Regions from separate parts of the Homo sapiens genome. Here all the other regions are linked to region 7. The links are contacts of gene promoters, found by promoter capture Hi-C in blood cells and fetal thymus (Javierre and others, 2016). All regions are on one chromosome and are shown on one strand. Each heading gives the region's core, a stretch centred on a gene start or on the middle of the fragment in contact. The rest is flanking DNA. Distances are from core to core; before and after follow the strand shown.

Region 1 (2,947 bases), core at 73-2,572, 190 kb before region 7:
TGAGTCATGTTTTACAATTAACAGCCATGATTAAAGTTCATTTACTTTAAACGAACTGAAGTAAGAAGGGAGAAAGATAGTTTTTCCAGCAGTAAATGTATAAGACATACAAAAGAAGAGGCAGCAAGATGCAACTATTTAGGTGTGTTATTTCCTTGAGAAGATGAGAGGGAATCATTATTCTATGTCCTACCATGTTTAGCCCTGCACAGTCAGATACTCATAAAAAAAATGTACTGACTGCGTAAGGGGTCTGCCCTAGTCCCTACAGAAAATCATACCTGTCCCTGCCTATGCCAGGCCTCTGACTCTGTATGAGTCCTCAGTTAATACCTGTACTGAAGTAACTTTATCCCAGATCTGTTTAGAGCCCTATGCCAATTAATTTTGCCATACTGTACCCCATCTGTCATCTTTGATCACCACCCAAAACATAAATCCTTATGTCATCTACCTGTTCTTTCATTTTTATACCAAACTGCTCTGTTTCTTCCTGATCCAAACTATTCCCATCCCCCCATGACTTTAAATTGTGTCTTATGGACCCCTTCCTCCAATGGTAAACACATTGTTTTTATCTTTTTTTTCTTTTTTTTTTTTGAGACGGAGTCTCACTCTGTCACCCAGGCTGGAGTGCAGTGGTGTGATCTCAGCTCACTGCAACCTCTGCCTCCTGGGTTCAAGCAATTCTCTGCCTCAGCCTCCTGAGTAGCTGGGACTATAGGCGTCCACCACCACGCCTGGCTAATTTTTGTATTTTTAGTAGAGACAGGATTTCACCATCTTGAACTGCTAACCTTGTGATCCACCCGTCTTGGCCTCCCAAAGTGCTGGCATAATAGGCGTGAGCCACCGTGCCCAGCCTGTTTTTATCTTTAACTTTGTGAGTCACATCATCTGTGTGTCTTCAAGTCCATGCAGATGATCTTCCACCTGCCTAACTTCTTAGTTCCTAGACTTAGGCACTTGTAGTGACTTCCACGTGCACTGCACTTCAGCCACCCTCCCATGGCAATGTAATAGAGTATCTCATTTGTTAAAGTGCCCTACCTATGATATCAAATACAAATATTCTACTTTATTGCCTGCATTTTTCCAACTCTTTAACTATAGTGCATTCACTATATTGTTCTAGGATTTTATTAAATCTTCTAAATCCCTTGGACCTTCCATTTGTCCTTTCACATTTCTAACTTAGGTCTGAGTCCACATTCCCAGAACTGATAATCTTAATTGCTATTTCTGTCACAGCAGCTCAGCAACTAGTACTATAATTTGCTTTCTTGGCTCTTTCTTGGCTCTTTTAATTCCAGACACTTAGGGCAATAAAGGACTAGGCAGGGGATTCCAGTTGGGTCTATACAGTGGTCTCATTGAGTCTTTAGTGGCCCAGTAATCCTTCAAACAATATTTCAAATATTCATTGCATTTCTCAACCCCCTAACTTAACTCATTCTTTTGATTCTGAACTGATCGTTTTCCTATCTTCTATTTTAAGGGAACTTGTAGTCTCCCTCAACCTCTTCCCTTCGTCCCTCCCTCCTCTAAAACATAACTACTGCCATGCATATTCCCCTCTCTTTTACAGAAGCAAGCTCTCTAAGGTGCCCTTAATTCCATTTCCTCCTCCTGTTTCTCAGTCTTCAGTCTTGTCATCTATATCTTTAATTTCTCCCTTTTTCTACTAGTATCTTTCTTTTAACTTATAAAACTCTCAAGTCACTACTACTCTTAAAATGAAGAAACCAAAAAAACCCTAGCTTCCTAACAATACCAGACACTCTTGAGCTGTTTACATTAACAACCTCCGCACTCACATTCCAGTGAAAACCACCCACAAGTATCTGTATGCCTCACTCCACTCCTTACCGCTCCTCTAACCTTTGTTACTCCCTTCTTTCCCTGACCTTAAGGAGACTGTCTACTACAGATTGTCTCTTGGATGGGGTTCAAAAGCATCAAGTAACAGAACACAATGCTTTAAAATAAAATCGTGGGATTCAGAATTGTGACAGATGGTACTTCTTGCTCTTCCTTTCTACTTTTGTTTATTGACTTGCTTTATCTGTGTGAGTATCTTTCTCTCCCAAAAGCAGCTCCTCAAATGAGCAAAGAAATCAGAGAAAATTTGGACTAGGAAGGTAGAAAAGATAATATAATCTGGAATAACATTTTATTAGGGACTTAAGAAAATTTTCTTAAATAAAACACACAATGGCCAGGTGTGGTAGCTCATGCCTGTAATATGAGCACTTTGTGAGGCCAAGGTAAGATGATCGCTTGAGCTCAGGAGTTTGAGACCAGCCTGGGCAACATAGTGAGACCCCATCTCTATATTTTTGTGTTTTTTTTGAGACAGAGATTCGCTCTGTCTCCCAGGCTGGAGTGCAGTGGCGTGATCTTGAATCACTGCAACCTCCACCTCCTGAGTTCCAGCGATTCTCCCGCTTCAGCCTCCAGAGTAGCTAGGATTACAGGTGCCCGCCACCACACCTGGCTAATTTTTTGCATTTTTAGTAGAGACGGGGTTTCACCATGTTGGCCAGGCTGGTCTCCTGACCTCAGGTGATCCACTGGCCTTGGCTTCCAAAAGTGCTGGGATTACAGGCGTGAGCCACCTCGCCTGGCTCTCCCATCTGTATAAAAAACAAAAACCAACTCCCCCTTGCCCAACAAAAAAGTCTATATTGGAAAAAAAAACTGTACAAAAGTGGTTGCTATAATTATCTCTTTAAAATACACTTTCATAGAGGGTCAAAATCCTTTTTATTTTTAACTGCAGGTATAAATCTGAGGAAAATTTAATAAGACGTAATTGATGTAATTTTTTAATTTAAAATTTAGTATTTTACTTATAGATGTATCATTGTTCAACTTAACCTCCGTAAAGCAGTAAGCCAACACTCTAAATCTTCTTGATCACATATCTTCCTTCTCTTTCTTGCTC
Region 2 (2,759 bases), core at 13-2,512, 200 kb after region 7:
TGGAAGCTCTGTTCTGGGCTGAAGCCTATCATCCCTCCTAGCATGAAGGAGATACTTGAGTCATTCTTACTGGGTTCCTGGGCTGCACTGTGAATGCCAGCATCTGCTTCACGGGAGAGGAAGGAAGAAAAGAGAGAAGCAGAAAAGATATTTATGCAAAGTATCCTGTATTAGTTCCATACTTTACTTGGTTCGGTATTAAGTGACTTCTTTTTTAATATCTTAAAGTAGCAGAGGAAGGTAGGCTACAGGCATTTTAATGTAAATGTGGATTTCTGGGTAAATACAATTTAATAGTGGTTTCTACTTTGTGGATGATCCTATGCCCCCAACTGAGGAACTTGTTCTTAATGCCACACTTCCTGGGGAAGACACAGCTGCCAAATTCCTTTGCACAATCCCTAAAGAATGTTTTTGCCTTGAAAGTGTATTTGCTCAGCCTTGTCAGGTTTGGCTGTGAAGGGTGGGTCAGCCCACTGGGTGTGCTGCATACCTTCCTGGAGAGACCCAGGAAGCTGCCCAGCTACGCAAAGGGCAGTCAAATCTCTAGGTGGAACATTAGAATTTGTTTACTATGGTTAGGAATTTGCCCAGAGGTATCTGAAGTGCTTTGCTGAGGCTTTCTGGATGATAATTTTTTTGTTGCAGTTTTTAAATGTTTGTTTGTTTACAGAAAATGACTTCACCAACATAATTTTTAACCTTTCTTGATTTACCTCTGTGAAATCAGTGAAATATATTGGCGCTGTTTCTAGAAATTTCTGCAGTCAACTCAAGTAGCACCTGAAAAAGTCCCACAGCCTGTTGGCCAGTACATGTGCAGGATGTACAGGTTTGTTACCTAGGTAAACATGTGCCAGGGTGGTTTACTGCACATATTGTCCTGTCACCCAGGTATTAAGCCTGGCATCCACTAGCTATTCTTTCTGTTCCTCTCCTTCCTCCCACCCGCAATCTTCTGACAGGCACCAATGTGTGTTTTTCCCTCACATGTGTCCACGTGTTCTCATTGTTCAGCTCCTGCTTACAAGTGAGAACATGCAGTATTTGGTTTTCTGTTCCTGTGTTTGCTAAGGATAATGGCCTACAGCTCCATCCATGCCCCTGCAAAGGACATGATCTCCTTCCTTTTTATGGCTGCATAGTATTCCGTGGTGTATATATACCACATTATCTTTATCCAGTCTATCATTGATGGGCATTTAGGTTGATTCCATGTCTTTGCTGTTGTGAATAGTAAAGCTGCTGATTTGACTGTATGACCCATCGCTTCACTAATTGAGCCTTGTCTTACTTCAGTAGAGACTCCTATGGGGTTTTTTTTACCCAGCTTGACTCCAGATTTTTCATTTCATTTTCATTCCATTACTGTTGGGAGAAATAAAGATTTGGAAGAAAGAGTCAAGGACAATAGATCTTATAAAGTTGCTTCATCAGAAACCTACTGGGGATTACTTTTGCTGTAAGACAGAAATTTCCTCCTACTTAATATTTTTTTTTTAATTTGGAACCCATCTATTTCAACAGATGTAAAATAGACCTTGGTTGGAAAAGGAAAGGCAGAGAGGGAATATCTGCTTATGGATATTAGTGATTGAGGATAATGCACTTTATGTATGCCCTTTTCTGTAGTTGAAGATGAATATAATAGTGTGTGGACAACACAACCTTTCCTTAAGTAAATGCGCATGTAAAAGTGGCTTACATTCCCATGTAGGATACAGGAAGAATAATATTTGATTCTGTGACATGAGCGCATCAATTTAGAAAAATTTGTTTCAGCTCACAATTTGCCATTTCGCCTGTGATGGCTTTTTCTTTTAATGGTGAGACTTAAGTTGTGACACTTGACAAGCCTTCATAAGGAAATACATCAATTTAGGAAAGTAGCATGTACTGCATGTGTCTGTATTGCTTTCTACATTTCTACACCTACTCATTTGACAGGGTTTATGGGAAAGCAAGATGGGTGAAGTGTGTGGGGAGGTTCATGTAGTGCAATGTTGGGGGTGCCAGGAAGGCCCAGTTTTCTAAGATAATCACACATTTTGGCTGTGAACGAAAGGAAATTTCAGTCTTTTATTCTGAAGACCTGCACTGGAATGAATCACAGAGCTTCTCCAGGAGTCTGACAGTGTAGGAGGGGGCATCAAGTCAACCAACTTTCCTTATGCCCTGTGGTTCTGGGTCTTTTCAGGCTAGTGTAGTTGCATAAGTAAAGATCAAACAATTCAATTTCCCAGCCTTTCTACATGGGGTTGGCCATGGGTGTGTAAGTTAAGGACTACTCCCTGTTTCTGTATTGCAGAATTATGGTTAGACTGGCTAAACAAGTCAGGTTTTGTGAGTGTTTCTGAGAGGAAAAATTCTACCCATGACACTGTAGGGCAGATGAAATGGTGAGAACTCCAGTATTAACTTCTAAACACAGAAAAAAAAAAAACACATGCTACCATGACAAGGCTTCTTAAGAGGACCATGGAATAGCATCCAATGGAAAGTAGGCTGGTAAGAGTGTTGCAGCAGAAGCACCAGCAGCAGTGGAGGTGGCAAGAAGCAGAGGGTTCAAAGCCTTGGCCTCTTCCTGTACCATTTGCCTGCTGTGAAATTGACATGTGGCTTAACCTTTCTGAATCTCAGTTTCTTCATGGATGAAACAAAGATTATAACAGTACTTTAGAAAGTTTTTATGAGAATGAAATCAGATAAGGTATATGTGCTTAGATGCTCATCAGACAGAATACATGGTCGAGAAATGT
Region 3 (2,847 bases), core at 331-2,830, 220 kb after region 7:
AGGGATCAAGAATATTTTAGAAATTATACATCTTGGCAAGTAATTTCACTTCTCGGATTCATTCAAAGAAAATAATCAGATACTTGGTGAAAGACTTTTGTATGGTTTTTTAGAAACAACAGAGGAATGATGTTACATTGATAAATAAAATGAGATATTTTGTAGCTGCAAAATAAATATTTAAATATTCTTAAATGGCATTGGAAAATGCATATCAGTAGGCTCTAAATGGGCAAAGAAAAACCCTGGAAGAAAATTACAGTGATTGATTAAAGGTGTCTGATTTTTTTTTCCTTTCTTTATGCTTTCTTGTATTTTCCACATTTTATATATGCTTTCTTGTATTTCCACATATGTTCTAAATATAGTGAGAAAGATTTATGTTGTGTAAAATTGGGATACAGAACAGCTACATGACAGAGCTTTTGTGAATATGAAATACAGTAAAGTATTTAAGATAACTAACAGGGTTTTGGCTCATAGTCTGTGGTCAAAATTTGAGTTTTTACTCATTTAACTTGTATTTTCAGCTAGAACTGAAAATAGCCCCTGATGGGGCTCAGGTGATAGATAACTTTTATTGGATAGCTTTTTTATTAATGAATATTAGACCAGTGTTTTTTGTAAAATGAAATAATTATAGGCCACTATTCATGTTAAAGCTTGCTGTTATCATTCTGCAGAAAAGATGGGCTGTAAGAAAAAGAGCTGGTGAGGGTTGTGTATTAAAAACCAGAATCAGGCCGAGGCAGGCGGATCACGAGGTCAGGAGTTAGAGACCAGCCTGACCAACATGGTGAAACCCCGTCTCTACTAAAAATACAAAAATTAGAGAGGCATGGTGGTGCGTGCCTGTAATCCCAGCTACTCAGGAGGCTGAGGCAGGAGAATAGCTTGAACCCGGGAGGTGGAGGTTGCAGTGGCCGAGATCACGCCATTGCACTCCAGCCTGGGCTACAGAGCAAGATTCCGTCTCAACAAACAAACAAACAAACAAACCCCAGAATCAACAGTGAGAAAATTGTATGGTAGGGGCTTTCATTTGTGCTACATTCTGGACTCTTGTTTCACCAGCAGTAAACAAGTTTCCCAATGCTAAGCTTAGATTGTGAGGTTGTGTGACTGAAGAAATAGCTGCTTTCTAACCATCACAGAAGGCTAAATGAATCTTTCCCAGCCTGATGATTTTTGGATTTCCTTTTAGGCTGTGTATTCAGGCTAAACACAGTTGTTTGTTTCTGAGAGACTATTTAAAAATGGATTTAAATAGACTTGTTAATATTTACACTTCATGAAGTACTGTTTGTTTTCCCCTTACATATATTTCTTGTACTTTTAGGTGGTAATTAGTTGTTTGATGGTTTGTTTTATTTATCTTCCAAAAGATAATTCTTCTGTTTATTGATCTGTAATTATAGAGCCCCTCTTATTCTTCTACTGAAAATGGTTTTATGGCATTTGTCCTTTTCCAGTTCCTAGGGATTTTCCCTGTTTCATTGATTTCCGGGAAACAAGTAGTGGTGGGGTTGGCACTGTTACCGCACCCTGAAACCCTCAGGACTTTTTCAGAAGCAAAAGTGAATACCACCAGGGCAATTTGCCACCCTGTGTCATTTTCTAGACCCCTTTTCTGTATTTGTTTATTTATTCTACTTTAGCTTTTTTTTTTTTTTTTTTTGAGACGGAGTCTCGCTCTGTTGCCCAGGCTGGAGTGCAGTGGCGGGATCTCGGCTCACTGCAAGCTCCGCCTCCCGGGTTCACGCCATTCTCCTGCCTCAGCCTCCCAAGTAGCTGGGACTACAGGCGCCCACCACCACGCCCGGCTAATTTTTTGTATTTTTAGTAGAGACGGGGTTTCACCGTTTTAGCCGGGATGGTCTCGATCTCCTGACCTCGTGATCCGCCCGCCTCGGCCTCCCAAAGTGCTGGGACTACAGGCGTGAGCCACCGCGCCCGGCCAACTTTAGCTTTTTTATATTCTCCATCACTAAAGAGATTTGCCCTGGGCAACTATTGACATTTGGTCTTTTATAAAGATAGTAATTTATAAAAATATATTAGAAGCTTGATAAATTGATTGAAAGATTTTGGGGTAGTTAAAATATCCAAATGTCACTCTATGTAAATCTCATGATACTTTGGTAAAATGATCAAAGAAAGTCTGCTCCAATTCTTCTCTGTTGAGCTCCACCATGGATCTCCATTGTTGCCATCTTTATGTCCATGAGTACCCAATGTTTAGTTCCCACTTATAAGGGGAAACACTTGGTATTTGGTTTTCTGTTTCTGCATTAATTCGCTTAGGATAATGACCTCCAGCTGCATCCATGTTGCTGCAAAGAACATGATTTCGTTCTTTTTTTATTTACCACTTTTTAGTCGAGTAAATTTCTTCCTGTTGACTCCTTTTTGTTTCCCGGGCTTCTGAGATAGGTACTGTGCGTCAGGCTGATTTGAGTTTGAATCCCAACTGGGCGATTCACTAGTTATGTAACCTCAGGCAAACTACTCATCTTGAGACTCCTTCCAGAAAAGAAATCTGCCTACATTTCGACCACTGCCCACATTTCCAACTCCTGCCCTATCCTTCCGCAAGAAGACTCTGACTTCACTGAAACCATTCATCATTAAGTTTCATTAAAGAACAAGTATAATAATAGTAACAACCTAAAGGCATGTAAGGCTTAAATGAGACAACACCTATAAAATATAAGCTCAAAATAGTTATTATTATTGTAGGACCCCAAATCTCAGCAGTCAGAATTGAAGTCCTTGTTTTTTTCTCTTTTCTTCCATCATCCTTTATTGTGTTAATTTACTTTCTGCTGCACATCTTTTTTTCTTTTC
Region 4 (2,767 bases), core at 20-2,519, 230 kb before region 7:
CTGCTGTGTTTAGAGGACAGCTCTGATTTTCCTGATGTAGAGGCTGGTTTAGAAGATGTTGAGATGTTTCCTCGATCACCTGTATGGTCCATTTTACAGTGAAACTTATTAATAAAATTATAACTTACTGATAATTTAGCCACTAAACACTGAAATAAAAAAACATAGCTACAAAATTTATATTGTTTGTCATACATACTAAAATACTTGAAGAATAAAGGAAAGAAGGGGGAAATATTTCTAATAAAATTTCTACACATCATTACACAACATTACCACCAAAAACTATTTTCATGGACGCAAAACAACAGGTTGAACAAATCCAGTGTGAACTATCAGTGATATCTCAACCTCTGCCCTAGTGCAATAACTAGTTAGAATTTAAATTCAGTGAGGGACTAGAAAGAGACAGAAATTAATCTTTTGGGGAATAAGAAATTATTTAATGTGAAAACTTGTATTTTAAATGTAGAGTAGAGCTAAATTTCCAGCAGAGTGATACCTCGCATCCTTAGGGCAACGGTATGGGTTTTGTTGAATTAGAGAACTGAATTTATGCATAGACACAATTATAATTTTTAAGTGTATGCATACAATTAGGCTAACAAAGAGTTGCTTAAGAGGCACTCTGTTTTATGATCAGATTAGACTAGTTTACAATGAGCACATGAATGCCCTGAAGCTGTTATTTAATTATTTATAAACAGGTTACACTCCAAAAGTTCAGGAAGCTTAGCTGCTTAGAACTCAGAGCCTGTGTTCCCTTGGAAACCACAGAAACGGTGGATCCTCAGAATGAGTGGTAAAAGTCTGAACTGTGGACCCTCAAAACAAGGAGTCAGGAGAATGACAGAAAAACAGGATGAAAAGAAGAATCACCTCCCTTTTCTAAGGCAAAGCATTAGATGTTTCTGCATGGACATTAATTGTTTTTAGCACCCTGCCTTCATTCAGTGTCTCTCCTTCATTCTATTTTATGCTTTTCTTTGAGGCATTAGAGCCAGGCTGTCTGTGACCCAAGTAAATGGTACAAACTTCAACATCACCTTTCCTCCTTAAAATAAAAACTTCTACTCTTAGTGCAAGTGATACCAGTTAGTTGTTAGGAGAAAAGCAATCTGACTGAAGGGTTTCAAGTGGTATAAAAAACTGAAAATCCATAAACCTATCTGGAAGTATTTATATTTTTTCAAAGACAGTTCCTAGGAAATTAAGGTAGATTTGTTAACTGGCTATAACTGCATGTTATTATTTTTTAAAAGAAAAAAGGATGTGAACAAATTCAGATGATGTAGGAAAATGTTTTTTATGCTTCCGTGCATGTGTTAAGTGTGTATAGTCACGCTCTATTTCTCTATGGCTCAGGACAGTAGTGCTGGAGAATCTGCCCCAGTCTTTGTCAAGGGCAGGTATTTTTGTCTGTTACTCTTCACTGATGTAATACCAAGAATGAATCCAGGAATACAGTAGGTATTCAATAAATATGTGTTGAATGAGTAATATATTCCAATTTTCTTGATTTTTTTCTTCTGCTACTCCCAAGTATTCAGCTTCTCCAGAAGTCTACTTTTTACAATTAAGGCTCCCAAGGCCACAGGACAGAGGTGACATTAGTTATTGATGTGCAAGGGTTAGATGCTTGCAAACTGAGTAATTACATGGTGAAATAATAGAGTATGGCAAGTACTTTATACAGGGCACACTGATGAACTAAATGTTTAATTGCAACATGCCAATATTTAAGATAATTTTTCCTGTTCTTTGGATGAATAAAAGTAACTAAAACATAATGCTTTTTAGTTTCTTGCAAAGCTTCATTATTCAATCATTAACCTCCTTTATCATATTATGTGCTCTGTTTTATAAATACAGTATTAACAGATGGGGCTAAGTTTTGAAAAAAGGGTTAAAAAAATCCCAATTTAGAATTCTAACTATCAATGCTGTCTTGGGAGAGCACAGATAAACAGATGTGATCTATGAATAAGTACCCTTAAACTGTTCAAAAGTAGTTCAAAAAATTGCTACCCATCTAATCTTACTGACCTAGTAACAGCATATGGCAAATTTGGTAAACAAATTATATTTGGTAGATTAAATCAGTAGTCATGGCCATTAATTTTGAGTATGTGATGTTTGGAATACTTGTTTTTTGTTATTAATCTGACAGCTGGAGACATGTTTATCACCTTTATCATCACATTTATTTCAGAAACTGAACCACACATAATGGGAATCTAGACAAACAATTAGTAAGTCTTTTATATTTGGTATCCCTTTCTCCAAAAAATCCATCTGTAAACTGAAAGAGGTTTTCTCTCTAATTTATAAAAAAGGACAACTTGTGTAGGATTTCTAACAAATAGGAAGGGTTCGTGACAAAGATTACCTACTCCCTGTGTCAGATGTGTCTTAGTGGTTGACCTGCACAACAGCTGCATGCAAAGGAATGGTGAATACCTGCTGATGCTACCTCTATTCTAGGAATGCATATGAACTTACAATGGTAGGTTATTTACTCATCATGAAAACAACCTCTGTGGTTGCCTGAAAAATGGAATCTGCCAAATACCAGGAACACCACTTGTCATATGTGAGCAAAAAAGTTTATTACATAGTGTTAGAAAGAATAGGCATTTGTATATCTTATTATATCTCTAATAGTGGTGAATATTTTCTTAAGATCTGTAAGTGGTGACAGCTAAATACCTGTTGAAGTTTAGGCATACAAATAATGGCAGAAATATTTCTTTTTCAGATGTATTTC
Region 5 (2,827 bases), core at 129-2,628, 240 kb after region 7:
TTTTGTCTTGTTTCTTTATAAAGGATCTCAGACAGAAATGATGCTGCTAAAACATATAAGGCCAATACCTTGGATAACCAACTAACCAATAGGTACCAGTATCTACTAACTATGGGAAAGGCTCAAGTATAATATTTTTCTAAGTGTTACCTATGTACTTGCAATTCTTCAATCCTACTTGATATCTTTCTGTAAATTCTTAGTCTCTATCATTACTCCTGTTCATGGCTAGAATAAAACCTTGTTGTTTAGCTTAAGAATCAAGAGCACTTGTAGCTCCAAATCACCATTCTTACCACATTTATGTTTCTGTTTAAGTTGTCCTGGTGGCAAAATTATGAAATAGGTGCAAATGCAAATTTTACATTATTATTGTTAAGGAAAATTACTGAACCCAACAAATAAAAATATTGGGCTTAAAAGATACTAAATTTTCAGAAGAAAAAAAATTCTTTGGAATCTAGTACAAGAGACAAAATCATGAAATCATCTTATGAAATTTATTAAAATATGATGCTTTCTATTTCTTTCTCTCACCAGTGTCTAACTTTTAAAACTCTAAATTCAGGAATAATTCCAAATAGATGCAAATGTTCATTCTTCATTGTTCAAACTTTGCTTTCTTTCTCTCTTACCAGGAGCATGTCCATGTTTAGATCACTGGAAGTAACAAAGTTGTATGTATTCTTTCTAATTGTAGTATATTTCTTTTTATGTATTCAAGAAAAACCAGGGAAAACCACCTCAGGCCAATTTTATTGGAATACAGCCATGCCCCTATTGCTCTGGCAGAGTTGAGTAGTAGAAGACAATACCAAAATGGTCTGTAAAGGTTCAAATGTGACTATCTGGACTTTTGCAGAAAAAAAAGATTGCCAATCATTACTCTATCCAAACACCAAAGCTTAGATCATCCTTTCTTTCTTCTTCTTTATTAAAATCTAGACTCCTTATTTTTTCCCCTACAGGACTTTTCTTCCCTCTACTCTCACAATAATTAACCCTTCCTCCACACCTCACTTCCTTCCCCACCCACCCTTCACATCTATGCCTCCTCCTTCAGAGAAAATTGAATTGGGAAAACATGGGGTGAGCTAAAAATCTATTTAAATGGAACACATTTTCCCTGGAATGTACTACTGATGGTTATAAGCAGCCCAAATCAGACAGATTTATAAACTTACTTTATTTTTGAATTCCTATTTATGTATAAAGTAATTTATACACTGGATCACACCTCTCAGTGCTTGAAATGGGCCTGGGTCACTTCCATTTTTGAGGCTCTGCATATATGAATAAATGCCAGATAGAGACTTAAGATGGTATGATTTAAAATTTTTTATTAAGCAATAATGCTTCTAATGCAAAAAACCGCAACATAATTAGTTAGTCACAATATAATCACAGGAATAAAAGAAATGTGAATCTGTAGCACGCCAGAATTGATTTGTCTGAATTTCCGACAGTTAATGTCATTTTATGAATCACTTCTTTATTCTATTCCTTTAGTTTTAGCTAGTTCTATGAGAACCTGACAACTTCTAAAATATGTCAACTAAGGAAGAAGATTTTTGGCTGTTTTTCTATCCCCAAGTGAAACATTTTATGAACAGAGAGCAGGCAGGAATATGAGTAGAATTTAAGACTTTTCAAAGGTAGGCTGAAATGAAAAAGTTTGAGAGTGGGATTAATTGTTGTTCTTGTCATTAAACAGGCAACCTGGCGGTTCATTGAATGCCAACACCTCCAACACCATAGCATCCACTTCTGCTACTACTCCTGTAAAGAAGAAGAGGTAGGATGAACTCACTGTGTCTACCTCTTGCTGATACACTATGAAAGACTGCATTAGAAAGCTTCCTCCTCTTTTTTGTGGGGATCCAGCATCTACATTCTGCTGTTCCCAAACTTCAGCTCTTTCCCCCAGCAATCTCTTTCTCAAATATAGAGTCTTGTTTTCAATTCCTGTAGGGCCTTGAATTTCTAGGAAATGTTTTAGATGATAGAGCTCGCATGTTAAATGACAGACTACTTGAGGTAGCATGTTTCATGGAGTCCTGCTGCTGGGAATGCCTTAACCTGAAATAATGATGAATGTAGGGCCACATGCTGCCATGCTCCTGAAACCGGCCTGTATCTGGAGATGCCGCCTCTGCTCTGTGGATTGGGCTGGCCTTGCTTCCAAATGCAGAGTCAAAGACCCTTTCTGGAGACATCCATCTGTATTTGTTTGGTTCTTGCCTCCTCCACCGACCTCCTCTGCATGGTCTCCCACATTCTGCTGGTGCTGAGTCCTATGTAATTAGCAGGTACAGAGGAGTAGTTGGACCAATGGTGACCAAATATTCTTCATGAGACAGAACATGATGGTGAAAGAGATGTTTGCATGTTGAAAAAACCCCAGGGCTATGAATTGTGATGCAAATGGAAAACAAGCATTTACAAACATCAGTGCTTTTAAATTTTCTCAATTTCCCTGTCTGTACCTGGGTCCATGCTCTGTACAGGGTAGGTGCTCAATGTTTGTTGATGGACTGGCTGACTTTGCCATGGTGCTGCTGGAGAAAAATGACTGATTCTGTTTTTTCCTTCAACAAAATTCTGGCTGTAGCTGCAAAGTCTTAGAAAATGTGATTCATCTTTCCATTGAACCCAAATTTCATGTCCCTTGACCCTTTGCCTAGTAAAAACAGATTCCTAAGTTTGAAAGAGAAATTTTAGGTCAGTCAGTTCCATCTCCTATCTAGTGCAAGAATCTTTCCTCCGACATTTTGGGCATAATTCGGGACCACTGAAGCCATCAATAAGATTCTCACTATTTTGGGAC
Region 6 (2,728 bases), core at 48-2,547, 210 kb before region 7:
ATTTGTTAACTTTTACTTCTATAACATTCTACTTCACTAGAATAACACTTGAAATAATTTCTACGTATATAAAATCAAATAATTTTGCTAATTTAAAAATTACCAAATATTCTATTTTATGGAATAAAATGTTGCCTGATTCTAAAGAAAAGGTATCAAAAATTAACTTAATGTGCCAGATTATTTTCAAATTTCCAAAGATAGGTGTAAAAACTATGATTCGGAAAAAAAAAACCAAAGAATTACAGATAATAATGCTCATAGAAATGCTAGATGAAGTTAAACCATGCACCGGTTGATGTGTGTCTTTGTAGAATTTTTCTAGTTAACCAGGATCTTGAGTTATGACATTCAGGAAATCTTTTTTTCCATTCAAACTACTGTTACATTAAAAAAAGTCAAACTATAAAAAGAAAAATAATCAATCTGAACAAAGCTAATACTCTAGATGCCAGACCTAGTTTAAATATAAATTAAAAATATATATATATTAAAGTAGATTTTGCATTATTTACCGAGGTAAGGCTGAATATTTAAAATAGCCTTTGTAGTCAACAGAATTGACCTCAAGTTCTGGCTCTACCATTTTACTATGTATGTTTCTGGGGCAAATCATTTATCCTCTCTAAGCCTATGTTTCCTTCTCTGTAAAACAGACATAAGAGACAGTATCTCAAATGAGGCTGTATCAAAGTGCTTAAGTACAGTGTTTACTACATAGTGGCGACTATCAGTATAAACAAAGTTGAGTAAATATGGTCTTCTACATAATGATTTATTTAGTATCACAAAGGTATAAAACAAAAATAAATCTCATTTTACTAAATAGCATAGGGAAGTTCACTAAGAATAAGCCATCTTCTAAAGCATAGGTGATATACTAGTGGGATACATGGTAGTGAGGTTCAGGGAAGAATACCTTGCTTGGGGAGTCTTAAATGTTGGCACTTTGCCACATTTACCTTTCCCAACACGGTATAAAAAATACAATTCTGAATTATTTTAAAAAATTAAAACTATTTTCAGATTCCATACTTTTTTTTGTGATGCTAAAGATTAAGACTTCCATTTTCTGGAATTTGGAAGTCAAAATTTAGAGACGTCCTGTTGCGAATAAGAAGTTTAAAACAAGACCTAAGTAATTTCCATTGCTGGACTATAGGCAAGTAATGATTCAGAAAATTGCTAATTGAAACATAGCTAAGCCATGATTTCAAATTTGCTTCAAGATAGTGGTAAATAAAGTGGTGGTACTGATAACACATATGCATAAAATTATATTGACACAATGTCACCTAGAAACTGTTATTCCCTGGAAGAGACAAATCAACTTTTATTACTGTTTATTGTTTTGAAATATTTTATTAATTAAATTTGGTAAAATTAAAATGGTAATTATGCTTGTTTTTGTAAAGACTTGCAATGATTCTTTAGCTAGAACAAAAAGGTTCTCCTTTCTCCTTAGTTCTTTTGTCTGCTACTGCTATGACACAGGCAATTTTTCATTTAAAACTGAATTTGAATATGAATGAATTTAAATTTTCTAGTATAAATTTTCTACCTGACTGATCCTGATATTTTTCCTTTGTTTTTCCCTTTGTCCTTACCTTTAAAACTTCTTGAAACCTAAGTAGTACTTCTAAATGTAAAAAGTCTGATGCAACACAAAATTAATAAACTAACTCCTCACTTCTGTTTCATTCTTCTAAAATAATATTTATCATAGAAGGAAAAAACTATTTCGCACATGTGACACTATTTTGTTTCTTTGAAATTCTTCTCTTAATAGACATTCAAATTAATATTATACATGAACGAACATGATAAGCTAGAAATTGATAGTACTTATATTTCCAAACTAATTAATTTCATCAATTAAACTTTCCTAATGGATAGTGGAAACCCAGAAAAGTTTATACTCTTGTGTACCCTTTACCTAAGGTGGATAAAGTAATGAATAATATCATTTGCTAGCTACATACTAACCTAGTTTTTAATAAAAACTAAACCAGCTAGCATTCTTTTACATGACCCTAATAACAGTTATTAAAGTATTTTTGTAAACAAATAACTTAGACCTAAGTGTGAATGTACTTTACCAAAGCAAAGAGGTTGTGCATTTGAATCCGAAAAATGGTATACAAGCTGAAACTTTCATAAACTAGCTCATTCAATTAATGTGTTTATATATTGTATAGCCAACATGAGAACTGAATGCCAAGAAGAACACACTGTTGTCATACTGGACAGAGCTTTGAAAAGTTTAGGTGGAAGGTTCAGGAGGTTATTAAGAAAAAAGAACACTCAGTTAAGTATAATTTTTTTGGGTATCTTTTCCAAACCAATGTGAATTACTATCATGAATGAAGGACTAGAGCAATCCTAAAAGACAGAACTGGAATCAAATGATCAATTTAACATATTAGGAACAACAACAAAAAAATAAAAATAAAGACAGGAAACAACAATTTGAGAAAACCGGGAAAACTAAATTGTCATACATTTCATAGATACCAAATTCACTTAGAAAAAACAAACAAACCTGTCCAAACAAGTACAGTCTCTCTTCTACCCACTGATAAGAGTGAAATGGCTTTATCCTTTTGGGACATCTTGAAGTAAGAAAAATCCACTGAAAGTTGTCCCTGTATGTGATGCTTACCATAGTCATGCATATGAACTTTAAATCAACTTTAAATGTCTTAGCTGCAGAATGTCTTAGCTCAGA
Region 7 (2,700 bases), core at 52-2,551:
CAAAAGGCCCGGTTATCAAAGTACAGCTCTAAAAATCTCTATCAGACACCTTTCGCATCCACACAGATCTCCATCTGCGTCCCTTATTCATAAATCTTTTTAAAGCAAACCTCACGCCTATCCCTCGGGCCTGCTTATCCAAAACTCAACCAATCTATACCATGACTCCTCTTGGTGAAAGGCAGATTGAAGGGAGGTGGAAAGGGCTGGAAGGAATGTCATGGGAGAGGCGGCACGTGCAAATAACATTGCGGCAGAGACACTGAAAACGCCACTTCCCTTGCCACTGTTGCAATTCTCTTCGTGTATCATCCTCTTACCCTCTCTACCCATGCCACCTCCTACCTCAACGATACACACACGTGTCACAGCCGACCAGCACCATCGCCTTTTCCAGCATCACAGGTTCCCCTACCACCCCTCACTATCCCCCCACATAGGCAGGCAGACACACACACACACACACACACACACACACACACACACACACACGAGAAACTGCAGCCACCGCACCCTCCTATCTCGATAAGTGCTCCTGCCAACAGACATCCAGAGCGGACTGAAAGCTCAATAAATGCGCAGGTACACACACGCAAGCACACACACACGCGGGTGCACGCGCGGCATGGGGCGCAAGGAAGGGCGGCATGGGGCGCAAGGAAGGGCACCCTGGGGACGCACCTGGAGGCTGGGTGTCCAGCGCTGCCGCCCCCCTGGTCCCTGTCATTGAGCGCAGCGGTATAAATCCTCCGGTAGCGGTCGGCCAGGGCCCGGCCTGACAGCAGCAGCTGGTAGTGACCCCGGGAGTCCGCGGCGGGTAGCCCCAGCCCCAGCCCCGCAGCAGCCACGGAGCCGTCGGGAACCGGCATGAACAGCGCCCCCGGCGCCGGGGAGGAAGAGAAGGTGGCGGCTGGGTAGAATCCGTCCCCGCCGAGCCCCGAGGAGGCGGCGGCGGGGGAGGCAGTCGCTGCGCACATCATCATCCTCGCCGCCGCCGCCGCCGCCGCCGCCTCGTCCCCGCGGGCCGGGCGGGCAGACACGCGCGCGCACACACAGCCCTTTTCCAACGACGACGGCTCCGGCGGCGGCCTCTGGCTCCCGCAGCAGGGAGACTACAAAGACAGCGACCTCCTTCTCCTCCTCCTTCTTCTCCTCCTCCCCCCCGCGCCGCCCTCGCCGCTACTGGGGCCGCTCATCTAACCCCGCCACCCCGGGAATGTGAGGAGGAGGCGGTGCCGCCACTGCCGCCGCCACCACCGCTACCACCGCCACCACCGCCGGGGCTACCCGCAATGGGAAGCTGCCGGCCTCACAGAGCATGCGCCACTCCTCGCACATGCTCAGTAACTGCCGCCCCTTTTCCTCCCCACCCCCTCTCCGCCACCACTCCCTCCGCCTCGGGGCTTTGGGTTTGGGGCTGTTGGGTTGTGCGGAATCTGAAGTAGTCCACTTCTCCGGGTTTTACTGGCAGCTTGAAGAAGAGTAAGGAAAGTGCTGGGGAGGCTGTCAGCTACTGACGTTCGACTTCAGGTTCCCTCCAGGTGGAAGAACGAGGACCAGAAAGCAAGGGGGAACGTGCCCATCGCCAGAGGAGGAGTGGCACGCTCTTCTGCTACCTCTTCTCCAAGGCTCTGCTGCCAACAGGAAGATTTACTGTGAATTGTGCTGGTTAATTCAGAGTTTAAGGCAGAGAAAACCATCCCAATTAGAAGTGCCTTTAGCGATCTTATTTTATATGGTTTTTGTCATTAGGATTTACGCTTGTTTAACACAGCTTTTACTTACAAAGACAGGTAGTAATCTAGCACATTCTTTTTTGTGTGTGAAAGTATTTTGTGTGTGAAAGTATAACAGATAGGCTAGTATTCACAAGCCAGAGTCATTCCCAAATTCTTGTTCTCAACGGAGCAATAATATTTTTTAAATTACTCTTTTTTATTGACTCCTCACTCACCTAAGAGTGCACTTTTATCTCTTGGCAGTGGTCATTTAATGGTTTATTTTTTTCTGCCCAAACTTACATTTTTAAAGATAATTCTTGAATGCGATCTGAAACAATAATTGTGACGGAGACTGTATAGCGTCTGAAAATGTCAGATCCATCACATATCTTGTTGTTGTCTATAAAAAAGTAACATTTGCTCAGTCCTTTGTTCCAAGCTAACCTACGAACCCCATCTAAGTATATGCTCTAGAAATATACGTGCCAATGCACTTTGATTCCTACTACGTTTTATCCTTTGACTCTCAATTTGAAGAGTTTCCTAATTTACAGTCCTGACAAAATAATTTATAAGTTCTGTCATCCCAGTACTGTATCTTTCATCTATGTACTAGTTCTTATATCTGTGCCTCTTCTTCGGATGGCCTTCTCTTAAAAAAAAATAAAATAAATGTTAAAAAATCCTCCTTAGTGTTTGAGAAGTGCAAACAACAAGGAATAGGAAAGTAAATTAATTCTAGTTTTAGGGTGGAAGGTTGCTGAAAGCAATGCATTTTTTTCTGAAGCTTTAAATAATGGATGGATTTCATTTAGTTTTTTTAAAGATAATTAGCAGTGGGATAAACATAGGAACAAAGGACAAGACATGTGGAATCATAGTATTTTAGTACTGTAATTAGCCCTGTTAAGTTTTTGTATTTGTCTTGTTTCCTTACCTAAGTTCCTTCAGAGCTTGCTGCTTTTGTGTCTCCTTCAGC

Evidence for each region. The method cuts DNA at HindIII sites, captures the fragments that hold promoters and counts their contacts. A CHiCAGO score of 5 or more calls a contact.
Region 1: a contact is called between a fragment that was not itself captured here and the fragment with the promoter of MYCBP2 in region 7, in 1 of 17 cell types (total B cells). The highest score is 5.9, in total B cells.
Region 2: a fragment that was not itself captured here is called in contact with the fragment with the promoter of MYCBP2 in region 7 in 2 of 17 cell types (naive B cells and total B cells); the score reaches 5.7 in naive B cells.
Region 3: a fragment that was not itself captured here is called in contact with the fragment with the promoter of MYCBP2 in region 7 in 2 of 17 cell types (naive B cells and total B cells); the score reaches 5.8 in naive B cells.
Region 4: a fragment that was not itself captured here is called in contact with the fragment with the promoter of MYCBP2 in region 7 in 3 of 17 cell types (activated CD4 T cells, total B cells and naive CD8 T cells); the score reaches 6.7 in activated CD4 T cells.
Region 5: a fragment that was not itself captured here is called in contact with the fragment with the promoter of MYCBP2 in region 7 in 5 of 17 cell types (M1 macrophages, total B cells, M0 macrophages and 2 more); the score reaches 9.3 in M1 macrophages.
Region 6: a fragment that was not itself captured here is called in contact with the fragment with the promoter of MYCBP2 in region 7 in 2 of 17 cell types (naive B cells and activated CD4 T cells); the score reaches 7.0 in naive B cells.

Annotation. Positions count from the first base shown.
Region 1 is chr13:77,135,255-77,138,201 of GRCh38, forward strand. All of the region lies in intron 52 of MYCBP2 (MYC binding protein 2), which reads right to left. Among named protein-coding and RNA genes, the nearest start is that of MYCBP2-AS2, 56 kb to the left of the region's middle. The HindIII fragment of the contact is 7,593 bases long and covers 1-2,947 here.
Region 2 is chr13:77,521,721-77,524,479 of GRCh38, forward strand. No RefSeq gene overlaps it. Among named protein-coding and RNA genes, the nearest start is that of SCEL, 13 kb to the right of the region's middle. The HindIII fragment of the contact is 4,999 bases long and covers 1-2,759 here.
Region 3 is chr13:77,541,424-77,544,270 of GRCh38, forward strand. All of the region lies in intron 1 of SCEL (sciellin), which reads left to right. Among named protein-coding and RNA genes, the nearest start is that of SCEL, 7.1 kb to the left of the region's middle. The HindIII fragment of the contact is 964 bases long and covers 1,099-2,062 here.
Region 4 is chr13:77,098,935-77,101,701 of GRCh38, forward strand. MYCBP2 (MYC binding protein 2) reads right to left here. Exons shown (of 83, transcript NM_015057.5): 56 at 1-79. Among named protein-coding and RNA genes, the nearest start is that of MYCBP2-AS2, 19 kb to the left of the region's middle. The HindIII fragment of the contact is 1,081 bases long and covers 730-1,810 here.
Region 5 is chr13:77,567,657-77,570,483 of GRCh38, forward strand. It overlaps SCEL (sciellin), which reads left to right. Exons shown (of 33, transcript NM_144777.3): 6 at 24-92; 7 at 639-677; 8 at 1,715-1,795. Among named protein-coding and RNA genes, the nearest start is that of SCEL, 33 kb to the left of the region's middle. The HindIII fragment of the contact is 952 bases long and covers 903-1,854 here.
Region 6 is chr13:77,115,461-77,118,188 of GRCh38, forward strand. The region is part of intron 55 of MYCBP2 (MYC binding protein 2); the gene reads right to left. Among named protein-coding and RNA genes, the nearest start is that of MYCBP2-AS2, 36 kb to the left of the region's middle. RefSeq lists an enhancer at 2,488-2,728. The HindIII fragment of the contact is 3,073 bases long and covers 1-2,728 here.
Region 7 is chr13:77,325,793-77,328,492 of GRCh38, forward strand. MYCBP2 (MYC binding protein 2) reads right to left here and starts at 1,302. Exons shown (of 83, transcript NM_015057.5): 1 at 682-1,302. The coding sequence starts at 983. It overlaps LOC127898562, which reads right to left and starts at 1,196. Exons shown (of 1, transcript NM_001414702.1): 1 at 1,113-1,196. The coding sequence starts at 1,196. The coding sequence ends at 1,113. LOC107984564 (a long non-coding RNA gene) reads left to right here and starts at 1,253. Exons shown (of 2, transcript XR_001749930.2): 1 at 1,253-1,343; 2 at 1,472-2,406. RefSeq lists silencers at 722-841, 882-1,261 and an enhancer at 1,452-1,781. The HindIII fragment of the contact is 13,146 bases long and covers 1-2,506 here.